Regions from separate parts of the Homo sapiens genome. Here region 1 is linked to region 2. Evidence: promoter capture Hi-C in human tissues and cell types (Jung and others, 2019). All regions are on one chromosome and are shown on one strand. Each heading gives the region's core, a stretch centred on a gene start or on the middle of the fragment in contact. The rest is flanking DNA. Distances are from core to core; before and after follow the strand shown.

Region 1 (3,295 bases), core at 719-3,218, 220 kb after region 2:
AGATGTCAGATACTAAAAGGTGCAGACAGTCCTTGTGTTTGGTAAACCTTACAGGGTTTATCTGAAAGAGAAAATGGATGCAGAAGTACATGAAAAAACTGTGTTATTCCAAATAGATGTGCTGTTTTCCCAGTTCATAGGAGTCGGTAATTTTTGGGTTCAGGGCAAAAAGGCAAAGGTTGAAGATGCTGTGATGATCACGTCCTTACCCTCCTGGAATATTTCCTTTTTGAAAGCTTCTGGCATCTTCCACTGAGTTCATGTTTTAAACAGTTGGGAGGATGAATTGAAGGGCCCTTATCCCAGGTCTGTGGTTTGATTATAAATGGTAAAGCCATAACCTGTCCACCTCCCTCTCCTTTATCTTGACAGGGGTTGGGGAGACAGCAGATTGAACAAGGAAAGAATTGTCTCCTGAGTTCTTTGATCATGTTAACTTTTATTTACTGTTGTATAGTCACATTTTCTAGACTGCTAAAATTGGTGAAATCAGGACAGGAAATAACTGTTTTTACGTGTATAAGTATACAAAAGTTATTCGAGATGAGTTACACTGCATTTCTTTCAGTGTGCTGCCTGCCACTGCTGCCTTTGTGTGATTTTGCTCTATATGTTCTGCTAGACAAATTTAAGGGAGGTTTCAGACAGCAAAACTCCCCCCAAAGCATCTACCAGCATAATCCCTATCAAAATCCCAACAACGTTTTAATTTTTTTGCAGAAGTGGAAAAACCGATGTTAAAATTCATATGGAATTGGCCGGGTGCGGTGGCTCACGCCTGTAATCCCGGCATTTTGGGAGTCTGAGTCAGGCAGATCACTTGAGGTCAGGAGTTCGAGACCAGCCTGACCAACATGGTGAAACCCCATGTCTACTAAAAATATAAAAATTAGCCGGATGTGGTGGCAGGTACCTGTAATCCCAGCTACTTGGAAGGCTGAGGCGGGAGAATCCCTTGAACCCAGGAGATGGAGGTTGCAGTGATCCAAGATCACAACACTGCACTCCAGCCTGGGTGATACAGTGAGACTGTGTCTCAAATAAATAAATTAAATAAATAAATAAATAAATTCATATGTAATTGCAAGGGGCTCTTAATACCCAAAACCCAAATAGCCACTTTGTTCTTTTTCAAGAACGTACTTCCTTATATCAAAACTTATTACAAGCTATAGTAATCAAGACTGTGTGGTACTGTACCAGCATAAGGATAGACATATGGGTCAGTGGAAGAGAATTGAGAGTCTAGAAATAAACCCTTATATTTATGAGCAATTGATTTTGTCCGGGATGCCAAGACTAGTCAATGGTGAAAGAGTAGTGTCTTCCACAAATGGAGCTGGGATAACAGGATATCACATGCAAAAGAATGAAGTTAGACCCTTACCTCATATCATGTACAAATATTAACTCAGAATGGATCAAAGACCCAATGGAAGAGTGAAAACTATAAAACTCTTAGAAGAATACAAGGGTAGGCTGGGCGTGGTGGCTCACCCCTGTAATCCCAGCACTTTTGGCATCACCAGAGGTCAGGAGTTTGAGACCAGCCTGACCAACGTGGAGAAACCCCGTCTGTACTAAAAATACAAAATTAGCAGGGCGTGGTGGTGTGCGCCCGTAATCCCAGCTACTCGGGAGGCTGAGGCAGGAGAATCGCTTGAACCCGGGAGATGGAGGTTGCGGTGAGCCGAGATCGCACCACTACGCTCCAGCCTAGTCAACAAGAGCGAAACTCCATCTCAAAAAAAAAAAAAAAAAAAAAAAAAAAGAATACTACAAGGGTAAATCTTTATGACCTTGGAGTTGGCAGTAGACTCTAGATATGACACTAAAAGCAGAAACAACAAAAAATAATGAATTGGATTTAATCAAAATTAAAAACTTTTTTGTGTAAAAGTATACTATCAAGAAAATGAGAAGACAACCCACAGAATGGGAGATATTTGTTAATCATATACCTGATAAGAATCTATGCTGCTGTCTAAATGTTTATGTCTCCCCCCACCCAATTCATATGTGAAGGCCTCAACCGCAAGGTGATGGGATTAGTGCATAAGGATAAGGATGGAGGCCCTTGTGGCCATGTGTGGTGGCTCATGCCGGTAATCCCAGCACTTTGGAAGGCGGAGGCGGGAGGATTGCTTGGGCCCAGGAGTTTGAGACCAGCCTGGGCAGCAAGGTGAGACTCCATTTTTACAAAAATTTTTTTAAAAAAAGAAAAGAGGCCCAAGAGAGAAACCCCCTACCCTTTCTGCCATTAGAGGAAGTGGGCCTTCACCAGACAGAGTCTGCCAACACCTTGATCTTGGACTTCCCAGCCTCCAGAACAGTGAGAATTTCTGTTGTTTATTAGCTACCCAGTCTGTGGTATTTTGTAAGAGCAGCCCAAATGGACTAAGACATTCTAGTAGCACAATATAGAAAGAACTTTTACAACTCAATGAAAAGACAACTCAGAAAATGGGCATGGTAGAACTTGTCCTGTGAAGAAGCCAAGACCAAAAAAAAAAAAAAAAAATGGACATAGGACTTGAATAGACATTCCAAAGAGTGGCAGGTGCCAACAAGCACATGAAAAGATGATCAGCATCATGAATCGTTAGAGAAGTGCAAATTGAAACTGCAGTGAGATACCACTTCATGGCCAGTAGGACAGCCATTTCCTAAAAAAAAAAAAAAAAAAGTATTGGTGAGGATGTAAGGAAGTTAGAACTCTGATACATTGCTGGAGGGAATGTAAAATGGTACAGCTGCTGTGGGAAACAGTTTGAGGTTCCTGAACAAGTTAAAGATAAAATCATCATATGATTCAGCAATTCCGCTTCTAAGGATATGTCCCAAAAAATTGAAAAAGTGTTTAAGGGCCAGGCGCGGTGGCTCACGCCCGTAATCCCAGCACTTTGGGAGGCCAAGGCGGGCGGATTACCTCTGGTCAGGAGTTTGAGACCAGCTTGGCCAATATGGTGAAACCCCGTCTCTACTAAAACTATAAAAATTAGCCGGGCTTGGTGGTGGGTGCCTGAATCCCAACTACTCGGGAGGCTGAGGCAGGAGAATCACTTGAACCTGGGAGGCAGAGTTTATGGTGAGCTGAGATGGTGCCATTGCACTCCAGCCTGGGCAACAAGAATGAAACTCCGTCAAAAAGAAGAAATGCTCAAACAAAAACGTGTACACCTCATATTCAGTCTAAATGCCCTTCAGTGCATGAATGAACAAAATGTAGTATAGAATGGAATACATGTTACACTGAACATTTGCTTATTTCCGTTTTGTAATTTTTTTTTAGTGA
Region 2 (3,462 bases), core at 457-2,956:
ATGACACACAGCTAGGCCTATCAAAATTCTTTTCTCAGATTTTACATGAGAGGTAGGGAAAGCTCTTCATTTTCTAGGAATTGGTAAATTGGGCAAATGTAAGATCAGAGTTGTCTCCAACTATGTCCCACTCTCTACTCCACTCTTCCATCACAGGAGTGAGCCTGTTTACAAGAGGACAATATACTCAAGTCTTGACAACATGTTTGGATCTCCAAGGCCAGTTTATGTAAGGCAATATTTTTTTAAGAGTTAATTTTAAAAATAGTTTTATATAATTTAAAATTAATAAATAACTTTTAAAAATAATTTTATTTGTTTTTTTATCTTTAGAGATGGAGTCTCACTCTGTTGCCCAGGCTGGTCTCAAACTCCTGAACTCAAGCAATCCTCCCACCTCAACCTCCCAAAGTGTTAGGATTACAAGTATAAGCCACCATGCCCGACCTTAAAAATAATTTTAAATAGAAGCTAACTTTTGTATTTTTTGTAGAGGTGGAGTTTCACTATGTTGCCCAGGCTGGTCTCAAACTCCTGTGCTCAAGTGATCCTCCCACCTTGGCCTCCCAAAGTGCTGGGATTACAGGTGTGAGCCACTGCACCCGCGAAGGCAGTCTTTTTTAATGAGTTTGTGTTGGTTTTTATCTACTTAAAACACAGATTAAAGCAGATCGTAATTTACATTTTCTCCAGGGGCTGATACACCCTCACCATGTGGTATTAAAATGGATCCAGCATGCACAACAAGATGAATATACTCAGGACTACTGAGCTGTACACTTAAAAATGGTTATGATGGTAAATGTTTTTTAAAAATTAAAGAAATTTTTTTATATTTTAAAAATGGATTTGGGTTCCCTTTTCTCAAGGAACTTGAACTGCCTTCACTTAAATTCTCTTTACATTTCAGTGCTTCTAGAGATAGAGAAATCAAGGGCATTATTATTGTTAGCACTGCTTTCTAGCCAAAAAGAAACTGAGAGCGATGAAGTATCTTGCCTAAAGCATCACACAGCACAGCTCCTAGGCAGCAAGGCCAGGACTAGAACCAGCACCCCTTGCCTTCATTATGTTCATCCTGTGCCTTACCTGGCTGAAGAAGAATTTAATAAAAGCTCTTCTAACTTCATGCAGAAGGCGGAACCTGCACCCTTCTTGACCCCTTTTGACCCCTTACCTCCCACTCATCGTTAAATTTTAAAATGCTGTTCTCTGAAAATTTTACTTCACTCTAGCGATGGCCCAAACACTCGGAAAAAAATGTAGCATGAGGATGGGGAGCCAGGTTGATAGGTTTTTCACTTAGTTAACTATTTATTGAGTACTCAGAACGCACTCGGTGCCAGGGCTAGGCACTGTGGATGAGTAGGGAGTGGGCGAGACAGGGACGAGATGAGCAGGGTCAAGGCCAGGGGGTCCCGGGGCGCCGGCGCTCAGGCTCGGGGTGATCCGCACGGTGGGAGCGGGGCACGGTGATCGCGGCGCGTCTGGGGACGCCCGGCCTGAGGGAGGCTGCCTGTCCCAAGGAGACGCCCATCGGGGCCGGACCCGAACGCCTCGGAGAAGACTCCCAGCGGGGAGGGGCTCCTCGGCCGTCGCAGGGCCCAGCGGCTAATCCCGCCGGCCGCAAGGAAGCGGAGAACTCACCGGACACCAGCACTCGCGACTCCACAAACTCCCTCAGCCTCCGGGCCGGAAGTCAGCGGCGCGATTCGCTCCGCCCATTACGCACGCCCCTGCGCAGGCCCGCAAGCCGAATTGCCGGACTGCAGCTCCCGGGATGCACTGCGACGGTATTGACAGGCGCAGCAACCAATAGACGGTAGAGAATGCCCTTGGCAGGAGGCGGGCCCTGTCAGTAGTTGTCCTCAGCAGCTAGTGGGCGTCTCCGCAGCGAGTGGCATCGGCCCCGCCCCCAGCCCGTGCTCGCCGGTGTCGGGTCCTAAGTCCCTCGGTCTTGGGTTCCCGGAGAGGTGAGTCGGCTGCAGGTGGGTGCGGGGCGCCGGGCTGTTCGGGGTACCGGTGTCGCAGTCGCCAGTCCGAGCTCACACCGGGCGTGGAGTTCAGCTGCGCATCGGGTTGCGGCAGCTTCGCCAGGCCTGGGGCTGGCTGGGCCGCGGGGCCGCCCTGGAGGCCGGAGCCACTGGGCCTGCGGCGCCTCGGCAGCGAGCAGCCGCTTTGCTCGCGTGCAGGAGGCTGTTCGCTACCTCACACCCCCGGCTGGCGCTGTGGCCTCGCTTAGCTCTACCGTTTAGCACCCGGCGACATGCACCCGGTCGGTTTCCGCCAGGATGCGGGAGAGTTGGGGCAAGCTACCTGCGACAGCTTGAACTTTTCCTAGGGATTCCGCTCCACCCGCCGGTTAGAGCGTATTGCTCATTAAATCCGAGACCTGTGTGCTTGCTACTGAAATAAAAGAAGTATTTTTTCCCCAGAGTCCTTTTAGGACGTTATGACTTTTCTCCTTTGCAAGACTGCAAAAAACTGACAAGAAGACAAAACTCTTCCCACTCCCAGGGACCGCGTTGTCTTGAGTTTGGCTAGTAAAGGCTAGCAAGTGAGGCTTTGTCTCTGCATCCCGTTCCCCCTAACATCCTCAGAGAACCTTCGTTTCTAGAATCTTTCTAGTATTCAGAGACTTCTCCAGGGTCATGATCCCAAAGGCTTAACCCGTTTACAAGGAGAGAGTTGTCTCCTGACGCCCAAAATGGCAGCTAAAATGGAGATAACTTTAAGCTCCAACACTGAAGCTTCCTCCAAGCAAGAGAGACACATAATAGCCAAACTAGAAGAGAAACGGGGCCCTCCTCTGCAAAAAAACTGCCCAGATCCTGAGCTCTGCCGCCAGAGCTTCAGACGCTTTTGTTATCAAGAGGTGTCTGGACCCCAAGAGGCTCTCTCCCAGCTCCGACAGCTCTGCCGTCAGTGGTTGCAACCCGAGCTGCACACCAAGGAGCAGATTTTGGAGCTTCTGGTGATGGAGCAGTTCCTGACCATCCTGCCCCCGGAGATCCAGGCTCGGGTCAGGCATCGATGTCCAATGAGCAGCAAGGAGATTGTGACCCTCGTGGAAGATTTTCACAGAGCATCCAAGAAACCAAAGCAGTGGGTAAGGAGGGTCCTCTCCCATCATCCTGGGGATTTCTTTTTCTTTTCTTTTTTTTTTTTTTTCTTTTTTTGAGACGGAATCTTGCTCTTTCGCCCAGGCCCGAGTGCAGTGGCGCTATCTCGGCTCACTGCAAGCTCCGCCTCCCGGGTTCACGCCATTCTCCTGCCTCAGCCTCCCGAGTAGCTGGGACTACAGGCGCCCGCCACCGCGCCCGGCTAATTTTTTGTATTTTTAGTAGAGACAGGGTTTCACCGTGTTAGCCAGGATGGTCTCGATCTCCTGACCTCGTGATCCGCCCGCCTCGGCCTCCCAAAGTGCTGGGACTACAGGTGTGAGCCACCGTGCCCGGCCGA

The links. The method cuts DNA at HindIII sites, captures the fragments that hold promoters and counts their contacts. A contact is called where the count stands out against the background at its distance.
Region 1: a contact is called between a fragment that was not itself captured here and the fragment with the promoter of ZSCAN32 in region 2, in 1 of the 25 tissues and cell types used here (spleen).

The regions. Positions count from the first base shown.
Region 1 is chr16:3,615,583-3,618,877 of GRCh38, forward strand. It overlaps a transcript of DNASE1 not described here. Among named protein-coding and RNA genes, the nearest start is that of SLX4, 5.6 kb to the left of the region's middle. The HindIII fragment of the contact is 7,289 bases long and covers 1-3,295 here.
Region 2 is chr16:3,399,298-3,402,759 of GRCh38, forward strand. It overlaps ZSCAN32 (zinc finger and SCAN domain containing 32), which reads right to left and starts at 1,707. Exons shown (of 7, transcript NM_001284527.2): 1 at 1,648-1,707. It overlaps ZNF174 (zinc finger protein 174), which reads left to right and starts at 1,918. Exons shown (of 3, transcript NM_003450.3): 1 at 1,918-3,109. The coding sequence starts at 2,708. It overlaps LOC105371059 (a long non-coding RNA gene), which reads left to right. Exons shown (of 4, transcript XR_007064949.1): 3 at 1-229; 4 at 334-372. RefSeq lists silencers at 1,345-1,494, 2,045-2,264 and an enhancer at 1,468-1,967. The HindIII fragment of the contact is 10,964 bases long and covers 1-3,462 here.